4 separate regions of the Homo sapiens genome follow, and all the other regions are linked to region 2. Evidence: promoter capture Hi-C in human tissues and cell types (Jung and others, 2019). All regions are on one chromosome and are shown on one strand. Each heading gives the region's core, a stretch centred on a gene start or on the middle of the fragment in contact. The rest is flanking DNA. Distances are from core to core; before and after follow the strand shown.

Region 1 (2,703 bases), core at 146-2,645, 120 kb before region 2:
ACTGCACTCCAGCCTGGGCGACAGAGCAAGACCATGTCTCTTGAAGAAAAAGGGTAGGGAGAGGCGCAGTGGCTCACTCCTGTAATCCCAGCACTTTGAGAGAGTGAGGCAGGAGGATTGCTTAAACTCAGGAGTTTGAAGCCAGACTGGGCAACATAGGTAGATCCCATCTCTACAAAAAAAAAAAAAAAGTCCCAACCAATTTAATGTCATCATCACTTCCTGAGAAACTGATTTGATCATTTGTCAAGATCTGACATTTACAAAATCTGACTGTATAACACTTCCTCGAACAGAACTTCTGCCAGGTTTCCCTGCTGTTCTCCTGTCCCCAGAGTCTTCTCTCTGGTTCTGCGGCATCCTGGGGGCCATCCTCAGGAGCACTGTGCCAGGAGGGAACCTCTCCTGATGGAGCTTTTCCTGATCCAGAGAGGCTGCTTTACATCACAGTTTCACTCTGGTCTACTTACTAGGATCCAGGAAGCCTTGACTCCATCAAACAGACCCTATACCTCTAATTCAAGCCACAGGAGGGGCCCTCACTCCCCTAGGAATGAGAAAGACAAAGAAGAAAACACACGCATGTGATTACGTGCTCAGCCTTCTCCTCCTCAGTGCTGGGTTCTGCTAGGCCAGGCAGCATGCTGCAGAAGCTAGTGACATTTGTTCTTGGCCCTCAGAACAAATGTCTCAGAAGTCTAGGGAGAGGAGACAAGGAAGTACTAGAGCTGGCAGCTGGAAATACTTTTCTGGGAAGGGCTGGGTGGTGAATAGTGCAGGCTTTACAGGCAGCGTGGTCTCTGTTGTAACTATACAGTTGTGCCCTTGCAACGTGAAAACAGCCAGGGACCCTATGCAATGAGTGTGGCTATGTTCTAATAAAATGTTATTTCTAGGCCAGACGCAGTGGCTCACGCCTGTAATCCCAGCTCTTTGGGAGGCTGAGGTGGGTGGATCACTTGAGGTCAGAAGTTGGAGACCAGCCTGGCCAACATGGTGAAACCCCATCTCTACTAAAAATGCAAAAATTTGCCGGGAGTGTTGGCACGTGCCTGTAATCCCAGCTACGCAGGAGGCTGAAGCAGGAGAATCACTTAAACCCAGGAGGCAGAGGTTACAGTTAGCTGAGATCGCACCACTGCACTCCAGCCTGGGTGACAGAGTGAGACTCCGTCTCAAAAAAAAAAAAAAAGTTATTTACAAAATCAGATGGTGATTTGGATTTGGTCCGTAGGCTGTTGTTTGCCACCTTACACTAGAGAGGAGACACAAGACAGAAGAAGCACCTGGTATGGGACAGCTCAAAGGAGGCACTGGTCGCTTTCTCTGAGCAGGGGGTTGGAATGGGACAGGCTTCGTGGGACAGGCATTGCTGTGCAGAGCTGAATAAGGGAAGTAGGCATTTGCCAAGCGAGCTGGGGCGAAGGGCACTGCTGGAAAGAGAGGCATAGGTGGGAGCCCAAGCCCTGAAGCATGGCACCATTGGGGCCTTGGCAGTCTCAGCCCATCAGTGTGGCTGGAGACGAGGGAGGTGAGAGCCAGAGATGAAGCTAGACAGGGAGGCGGGGCCAGCTCCGAGAGGCACTGTGAGCCATGCTAAGGGCTTTGGTCCTTATCCTCAGGGCAGGGAGAATAGGAACTAAAGGAGCCTCTGGGTTTCATCACTGTTCCAGATAGTTTGCATAAATGATTAATGATCTCATTCATTCTCACGAAATTCGATGAGGTGGGTGTTACACATCCCATTTTGCGACAGCAACACTAGCTCAATGTTCACTGCTTCCCCTAAGTGGCAGAGTCCCATCCAACCCGGATCCTCCAGGAGCTGGACCCCTGCTCTCTCCACAGTGCAGCCTCTAACGGAGCGTGAGACCCAGGATGATTTTCCTCCCTTGCCCTATCGCCAGAAACCACCCCCCTCCTCACCCCACTAGCAGGAAGGGTTCAGAGAATGCCACGATTTCCCAGAGTTGGACCCTGGAACCTGGGGTGGTACAGGGTGGGGACCTCAAGGCGTTGGCCACTCACCCCGGGAAGCTGCCTGGGGATGCAAAAGCCTGGCTCCCTTGGGGAGAAGGGAGTGGAGTGTTTGTCTGCTCCGCTCTCTTCATCCTGGCTGAGACCCACCTGGAGCCCACCCAAGGGGTCGTGGCTCCGCTGCTCTGTGACTGAGGTCACCAGGCGAGAGGAATTCCAGAGATTCCTGCTGAGGCATCAGCCCCAGCTCATCTCCTCTCTGCACCCAGTTTACTTGGTTGCTTAGTTGCAGAATATTTTGGTTCTTTTCGTTCCACCCTCTGAAAGTTGGAGCAGTTTGCAAGAATAGGTCTCTTTTCCTCTGTCATATGTGTCAGGCATTTGGGGAATCCTCACCAAATATCTGCTGAGTTAAACAATTAATACTGAAGTGCATCATTTGTACAAATGCCTTTTATTTACTCCTTCACATTTACTCCACACCAAGCAAGACCTGCCACCATTTTACAGAGATTTGTCCTCAAAGAAGTCTGGCTAAGCCAAGTGCGGTGGCTCATACCTGTAATCCAGGCACTTTGGGAGGCCGAAGTAGGTGGATCACCTGAGGTGAGGAGTGTGAGACCAGCCTGGCCAATATGGCGAAACCCTGTCTTTACTAAAAATACAAAATTAGCCAGGCATAGTGGCAGGTGCCTGTAATCCCAGCTATCAGGAGGCTGAGGCAGG
Region 2 (2,700 bases), core at 118-2,617:
AACTAGGACAAGTCATATATGTAAATGAGAGTATAAAGAGTAAATGAGAGTGGTCACTGCTCACTGCAGCTTAACTAATCAGATAGTTAAGTTGCAGGCATAAAGTTTTTTTAACTTTTATTCCTCAAGTAATAAATTGAGGAAAATACAAATATGTACAAAATTTTTACAAAAGCTATCCATAAAAGGGCAAGTAGTAATATATAGAAAAGATCTACCAGATTAGTAACAAACTACCCCCATTAGGAAAATGGTAAATGATATGAATAGGAAATTCAAAAAAAGAAGAATTACAGATTTCCAATAAGCATAACTTAAGATATACACTGATATTGTAAGGAAACACAATCACCACAACCTTGCTAATCAAAGAAACTAATGATATTTATTGGAAAATAATGGGAATTTTTAATAGACTGGGTTAGAAGACTAGAAGTGTACGTCCCAAAATATTAATAGTTCAGCTGTAGGGTGAGATCACTGATTTTAATTTTCTCCTTTTATACATTTTTCCAGATTTCTCTACAGCAACTACGTATCATTTTGTAATAAATTTTAATTTTTCGATGCACAAAGCAATTGCCTGGAATTGCAGTTCGATATGAACCCAGGAGTTACGCTTGTAAAATAAACTATTGCTGATGTGACATTTCCATTTCTCAAGCAGACTGTAAATTTCTCAGATGTAGGTCATCATGTTATAATTAGGGTTCCATTGCTCATGATCTAGATGAAACACTTCTCCCTTTCTTGTGGTCTCTTCATTAATTTGGTCCCTACCGCAAAGGCAGGGGGATTAAAAATAAAATATCTTTTGACACTGGTTGGCAGGTGTACTAACACGTGTGCGGGAGGATTCCTGTTCTCGGCATGGTTCACGCCGGGCTCCGGCAGCGCCCTAGTACGTAAGGGGCTGCACTGGAGTGTGGACTGCCCGGTATCCTTAGAGAAAGTTTTGACAGTGTGACGCCAGTGTCGCCTCTAACCACGTACAAAACGCGCCATGCATTGGGTAGCTATTACAGTGCACATTTTTGTGCAGGAAGCTACCCCACCAGCGCAAGTATTTCAGAATCAAGATCGCACTCCCGTTTCCCCTTCTAGGGAAAGGATTCCAGATAAACACTGAGAAAACAGATTTAATATCTTAGGTCAAAACTCCAGGTCTTCCCATAGGAAGGCCCCTGGGCTGTCATTCTGAGGTGCCTATTTCCCCCGCGCCGTGTCCACGTCCACGAGTCCACGAACCCTCCGAGTTCTCTCTCCTCACCTGCCGAGGGCTCGCCCCTCTAGCCCCGCCCCGCCCCGCCCAGGACGCGTGACGTCACAACAAGCGCCGTGCGCCCCGCCCCCCATCGGGGGCAACCATTGTTCCGCCGGTCGCGCCGGAGCTGGGTTGCTCCTGCTCCCGTCTCCAAGTCCTGGTACCTCCTTCAAGCTGGGAGAGGGCTCTAGTCCCTGGTTCTGAACACTCTGGGGTTCTCGGGTGCAGGCCGCCATGAGCAAACGGAAGGCGCCGCAGGAGACTCTCAACGGGGGAATCACCGACATGCTCACAGGTTAGCACCGGGCCGGGCCCCGCTGGCTTTCTTCTTTCCTTCCAGCCTCTTCCCCTGCCTTCCTTCTCTCCCACACCGACAGTCCAGTGGGTAGGGTAGGTTCCTTGCAGCGGGTCGTCTTCCGTGGGGATCTCCCTCCGGCGCCCCTGGCTGGTTGTCAGTCCTGCCGGCTACACCTGGGCCATCGCTTGGGCTGCTTTTGGTCTGGCCCTTGGAGGAAACGGGTGGTCACTGTCTCTTAGAGGCTGCCATATCCCCTTCCAGAAAACAGTTCTCGTTTGTTTACTCGTGGTTCTTGTTCACCCGAGCCTTCTGTTGCCTTTCAGAACTCGCAAACTTTGAGAAGAACGTGAGCCAAGCTATCCACAAGTACAATGCTTACAGGTGGGACAGTGCAGCATTCTCGGGTAGCATACGTTCTGGGATACCCTGTTTAGTGTGGCAATTAACAGGACTGAGGGCCCAGTGGATATTTGGTCCATCTGCAAGAGCGGGAAAAAGCAAGAATCGAGGCTGGTACCTTACTATTTCTTGAAGAATGTGGGCAGTGCGTTATAGGATCAGTTCAGATAAGTTCCCAATTCTGATTGCAGATAGCTGTAGCCTGATACGTATTTTGTCATCATCAAACATGAATTACTAGAAATGCGGTGTAATTTTAACCGTAATGAAAGACAGCGGATGAAGTCCATACTGTGAAATATATGTGGTTCAAGGAATCACATTTTTTCTTTTGGTTGGTCTAAAGTTGATCCTGTGGGATCCTGATCCTGATCCTTGTTCCTTGTTCATGGGATCCTGTCCTTGTTCATCTCACCAGGGGCCTTATCCTATTCATTCTTTCCACATCCACCTGCTTCTACTCCTTAGCCTATATTTATTTATTTATTTATTTTTATTTGAGACGGGGTCTCGCTGTGGTATGATCATGGCTCATTGCAGCTTCAACCTTCCAGCCTCAAGTGATCTTCCCATCTCAGCCTCCTGAGTGGCTGGGACTACTACAGGCGCACGCCACCACACCCAGCTAATTTTTTTTTCTTTCTTTTTTTTTCTTTTTTTTTTTGTAGAGACCGGGTTTTGCTATGTTGCCCAGGCTGATCTCCAACTCCTAAACTCAAATGGTCCACACACCTTGGTC
Region 3 (2,700 bases), core at 62-2,561, 81 kb before region 2:
GGGATCAGGTAGAGAAAAAAGGATAAATGTTTCAATTCTGTTTACGAAGGTATAATTTACCTGATTGCTGTAAATTTTAGTTAGCTTAAGAAAAAAAGAGAAAAGCCATTAAAGACCCAGAAATGTCCTAAAACAAGAAGTCATAAGAATTATAATCATCAGTCGGGCGTGGTGGCTCATGCCTGTAATCCCAGCAGTTTGGGAGGCTGAGGCAGGTGGATAGCCTGAGGTGAGAAGTTTGAGACCAGCCTGGCCAACATAGTGAAACCCCGTTTCTACCAAAAATACAAAAAAAAAAAAAAAATAGCTGTGGGTGGTGGCATGCGCCTGTAATCCAAGCTACTCAAGTGGCTGAGGCAGGAGAATCACTTGAACCCGAGAGGCAGAGGTGGCAGTGAGCCAAGATTGTGCCATTGCACTCCAACCTGGGCAACAAGAGCAAAACTCCATCTCAAAAAAAATAATAATAATTAAAAATAATTTAAATCATCTTCATTGGGTCATCTAGTCTGATGTAATTAATTCTTGTTCTGCTTGATCTTTGGTTAGCAATTTCATGAATGAGTCAGTTTTTCCATTAGTGTTCTGGAAGTTGAACGGTATGATCTTAAAGTCATCAGGAACGTGTACTTGTCCGTTTTCTCCATGAATCTCCTTAAATACAAATGCACTTTCTTGAGGTTCCTGGGCCTACCAGGAAATGACTTTTCTTACTCATCAGCACAGCAGCCATGCAAAGAAACCACATAAGCATGGTGGTTCATATTATAGTTGTTTGCAAAAGCTTTTAGGAATGCATCAAAATAAAACAATTAACTGTCTGTGGATGACAAAAGACTTCAAATGGTCATGGTTAAAGGATGAGAATTAATTGTAATACAATTGAGAAAAAAATTCAGTTACTTCTGTCACATACATTTTAAGATAATAACTAGAATTATAACTGACAACATTATAACTTCATGCAATTTCTGGAACACATAAATACATACAAATATGACATAAAGAAGCTTTAGTATCACTTCTTTTTTAACAATGCTTCCCATGTAATTTAACGTACCAAATTAATTTAACAAGTTTGTTTTTATAAGAAGAAAGACAAGGCCGGGTGCAGTGGCTTATGCCTATAATCCCAGCACTTTGGGAGGCCGAGGCAGGCGGATCACGAGGTCAACCAATTGAGACCATCTTGGCCAACATGGTGAAACCCCATCTCTACTAAAAATACAAAAATTAGCTGGGTGTGGTGGCACGCGCCTGTAGTCCCAGCTACTTGGGAGGCTGAGGCAGGAGAATCTCTTGAACCCGGAGGTGGAGGTTACAGTGAGCCAAGATCGCGCCACTGCACTCCAGCCTGGCAACAGAGCGAGACTCCATCTCAAAAAAAAAAAATTAATAATAAATAAAAAAGAAGAAAGACAAGTCCTTTGTGACTTTTTAGGGGCCTTCAGGAAAATTCCAAAGTTAGCTCAAGGTCAAAAACACTTCATGTAGAGTTTGATTTTTCAAAGTTGTCAAAAATGCCAAAAGACGGCTGGGCTCAGTGGCTCATGCCTATAATCCCAGCACTTTGGGAGGCCAAGGCAGGAGGATCACTTGAGCCCACGAGTTCGACATCAGCCTGGGCAGCATAGGAGGAGACCTTATCTCTAAAAAAAAATTTTCAAAGGACAATTTTTTTTTTAAAAGTCAAAAGACTAAATTTTTTGATTAAACAGGATCACAGATCACTGTAAAACATTACTCAGTTATCCATTTAACCAAAGCGCTGGAAGATTTCAGAGGTAATTACAGAAAGGTATACAGTTTTCTTTTTTTTTTTTTTAGCTTAGCTCTTTTAACAGAGAAGACTGAGTCTTCTTAAGTAATCAAACACCTGAAAAAGACAACATGAAACACAGGAAATTATTCTGATAAGACGCAGATTTTTTTCCACCTCAGCAAATTCTAGATTTCCTACACAGATTACATAGACGGTAAAGAAAAACGTTCCACAGTATTTTATCAAGAGAAGTCCAATACTCCAATAAAACTTTGTAATTTTAAGAAAGAAGATGAAACTCTAGTTTTAGATTGTACTTTTGATATTAAGGCTCATTTTTGAGATCCTTATAATAAATTGATTCAATTTTAGCCAACTTAATCACACAAGATTCTCTCTCTCTAACTTTCTAAATCTATTCAGGGTTTTTTTTGTTTTATTTTTGTTTTGAGACAGTCTTGCTATGTTGCCCCAGCTGGTCTTGAACTCCTGGGCTCAAGCAATACTCTTGCCTTGGCCTCTTGAGTAGCTGGGACTACAGGCATGTGCCACCATGCCTAGCTCCATTCAGTTTTTGTCTTTCTTTCTTTTTTTTTTTTTTGAGACGGAGTCTCACTCTGTCGCCCAGGCTGGATGGAGTGCAGTGGCGCGATCTCTGCTCACTGCAACCTCCGCCTCCTGGATTCACGCCATTCTCCTGCCTCAGCCTCCCGAGTAGCTGGGACTACAGGCGCCCACCATCATGCCCGGCTAATTTTTTGTATTTTTAATAGAGACAGGGTTTCACCATGTTAGCCAGGATGGTCTAGATCTCCTGACCTGGTGATCCGCCCGCCTCGGCCTCCCAAAGTGCTGGAATTACAGACTTGAGCCACCGCGCCCAGCTGCTTCATACCTTGTCTTACAGAAATCCCGTATCCTATTTTCCTTGCATACAA
Region 4 (2,700 bases), core at 34-2,533, 99 kb before region 2:
ATTCCTGAGTGTAAGCCAAGCTAGCCACAGGAGGAATTTAGTTTACACTTTAACTTTGAAGCAAGGATGATAATAGCCCCTCCATAAAACTGACCCCCTCCTTGTTCAGGGACTGAAAGAGCCTTTGAAAGACTAATGAAAGTCCACAAGATGAGGATGATGGGAGGGGCCCAAATTTTGCTAAGATGCAGGTGTAGTTAAATGATAACCAGCCATGGTTCCTTAGGTGGCTTTCCTATAATCCTTTACTGGTTAGGAGTCACGGAGCCAGAGGTCGTTGAGATTTGTGACTTCCCCAATCACTTCTATAGATAACATCCTTGTTGTAGAACCTAAGATTGGTGTTTTGTGATGTTTTTCAGGCTTTTTAATTCTGGGACCAACTGACTCCACCTGGACCCAAGGGTCATGACTCACCCAGTCCTGTGGCCACCATCCAGAGACTTACTTAGCACGAGGGCTCTTTTTCACACCCCTGTGATTTCATCCCCTACCAATCATCAGCACCCATTCCCTAGCCCCTGCTTGCTAAATTATCCATAAAATCCCTAGCCTCTGAATTCTTCAGGAGACTTATTTGAGTAATAAACTCCCATCCTTTTGCTTGGCGAGCTTTGAATTAATTAAACTCTTTCTCTACTGCAACACTGCTGTCTCTGTGAATTGGTTTTTTCTGTGCAGCACACAAGAAGAATCCATCTGGTGATTACACCTGGACCTGTACCCCCATCTGGCTGTGATGAGGTAGCTCCTCCTCCCCTGTCAGAGTGGTATCAGAGGAAGCAAGCTAAAACACATGCTTTAAGTAAGATCCAGAGACTCATAGTCTAATGCCCCAAAAGTCCATGGATCAATCAAAAAACACTCATCACAGTTCCTTTGGCTGGAGGCTTTATGTCAGCAGCCACAGCTACGGGGCCTCTCCTGTGAGCCTGGGGTGACCATCCTCGAAGCCCAACAGCATGGCCCTCATCCCGCTTCCCATCTCCTTCTCGCTCCCTTTAGCCGCCCTCTGGGCCACTGCGTCTGCCATTCCTCAGGTGGCCTGGCCCGACCTGCTTGGCCCCCATCCCCTCCGGTGGGTATCTCTCCCCACCAGCTCAGCCTAATTTAAAGTGTTTTTAAATTGGACCTCCTTTATATTGTATTTAGAATTAGCATCCAAAATTGACAAATTACCAATTTGAGGCCCAACAACAGTGTATTTGTTTCTCCAAAACAAATACTTTCTTTTGAATGGTTTCAAATGAGCCAACCAATTTTTGTAAAAGGCAATTTATATATATATATATATATATTTATTTATTTATTCATTTTTTTTTTTTGAGATGGAGTTTTGCTCTTCTTGCCGAGGCTAGAGTGCAATGGCACGATCTTGGCTCACTGTAACCTCTGCCTCACAGGTTCAAGTGATTCTCCTGCCTCAGCCTCCCAAATAGCTGGGAGTACAGGCACCACCCACAGCTAATTTTTGTATTTGTAGTAGAAAGGAGGTTTTGCCATGTTGGCCAGGCTGGTCTCGAACTCCTGACCTTAGGTGATCCACCTGGCTCAGCCTCCCAAAGTGTTGGGATTATAGGCATGAGCCACCGTGCCTGGCCGTAAAAGGCAATTTTTTAAAACTATAAATACAAGATTGTAAACTGAATGATGATATGTCTTCCAGGAAAAATCTTTTTGAATTTCTGTTTTCCTTTATAACAAACTGATTTTTACATTCCCAAGTCATTTGCACGTTAACAGAATACTTAAATTTGCTTGTTCTGTACATAAACTATGATACAGCCTCTAGACATAAGAAAATTTGAAAAATTAAAGATGGTTGCACAAGATGCTTTCATAATCAAGCATGTGACACCAGATGGCAATTTGTTAGCCAAATGCTGTTTTTTTTTTTTTTGAGGAATCACTTTGGTTTTTTTGTTCCCCTGTTAGTTACAACTTTATTAGAAGTGTTAATTCTAAGCCTGTCTCTTAAGTTTATTTAGAAACAGCAAGTAATTGGGGCCAGGCACAGTGGCTCACACCTGCAATCCCAGCACTTTGGGAGGCCGAGGCGGGCAGATCACGAGGTCAGGAGATCGAGACCATCCTGGCTAACACAGTGAAACCCTGTCTCTACTAAAAATCCAAAAACATTAGCCGGGCATGGTGGTGGACGCCTGTAGTCCCAGCTATTTGGGAGGCTGAGGCAGGAGAATGGTGTGAACCCGGGAGGTAGAGTTTGCAGTGAGCCAAGATCATTCCACTGCACTCCAGCCTGAGCGACAGAGCAAGACTCAGTCTCAAAAAAAAAAAAAAAAAAAAAAAAAAGAGCAAGTAATCTATATTGCCACACACCTTGAAAACAGAATGTGGGCCAGACACTGTGGCTCATGCCTGTAATCCCAGCACTTTGAGAGGCCGAGGTGGGTGGATCACAAGGTCAGGAGTTCGAGGTCAGCCTGGCCAATATGGTGAAACCCAATCTCTACTAAAAATACAAACATTAGCCAGGCATGGTGGCACACACCTTTACTCCCAGCTACCTGGGAGGCTGAGGCAGAAGAATCGCTTGAGCCCTGGAAGCAGAGGTTGCTGTGAGCTGAGATTGCGCCATTGCACTCCAGCCTGGGCAACATAGCAAGACTCCGTCTCAAAAAAAAAATGTGGTACATTTAGGACACCGACAAAATGAATTTTTTCTTGTTCCAATTCAAC

Evidence for each region. The method cuts DNA at HindIII sites, captures the fragments that hold promoters and counts their contacts. A contact is called where the count stands out against the background at its distance.
Region 1: a contact is called between a fragment that was not itself captured here and the fragment with the promoter of POLB in region 2, in 5 of the 25 tissues and cell types used here (adrenal gland, mesenchymal stem cells, neural progenitor cells and 2 more).
Region 3: a fragment that was not itself captured here is called in contact with the fragment with the promoter of POLB in region 2 in 3 of the 25 tissues and cell types used here (adrenal gland, aorta and mesenchymal stem cells).
Region 4: a contact is called between a fragment that was not itself captured here and the fragment with the promoter of POLB in region 2, in 2 of the 25 tissues and cell types used here (IMR-90 fibroblasts and neural progenitor cells).

What each region holds. Positions count from the first base shown.
Region 1 is chr8:42,220,003-42,222,705 of GRCh38, forward strand. No RefSeq gene overlaps it. Among named protein-coding and RNA genes, the nearest start is that of PLAT, 14 kb to the left of the region's middle. The HindIII fragment of the contact is 9,124 bases long and covers 1-2,703 here.
Region 2 is chr8:42,337,127-42,339,826 of GRCh38, forward strand. It overlaps POLB (DNA polymerase beta), which reads left to right and starts at 1,368. Exons shown (of 14, transcript NM_002690.3): 1 at 1,368-1,559; 2 at 1,886-1,943. The coding sequence starts at 1,499. The HindIII fragment of the contact is 25,945 bases long and covers 1-2,700 here.
Region 3 is chr8:42,256,120-42,258,819 of GRCh38, forward strand. The region is part of intron 3 of IKBKB-DT (IKBKB divergent transcript); the gene reads right to left. Among named protein-coding and RNA genes, the nearest start is that of IKBKB-DT, 14 kb to the right of the region's middle. The HindIII fragment of the contact is 5,944 bases long and covers 1-2,700 here.
Region 4 is chr8:42,238,338-42,241,037 of GRCh38, forward strand. It overlaps a transcript of IKBKB-DT not described here. Among named protein-coding and RNA genes, the nearest start is that of IKBKB-DT, 32 kb to the right of the region's middle. The HindIII fragment of the contact is 4,316 bases long and covers 1-2,700 here.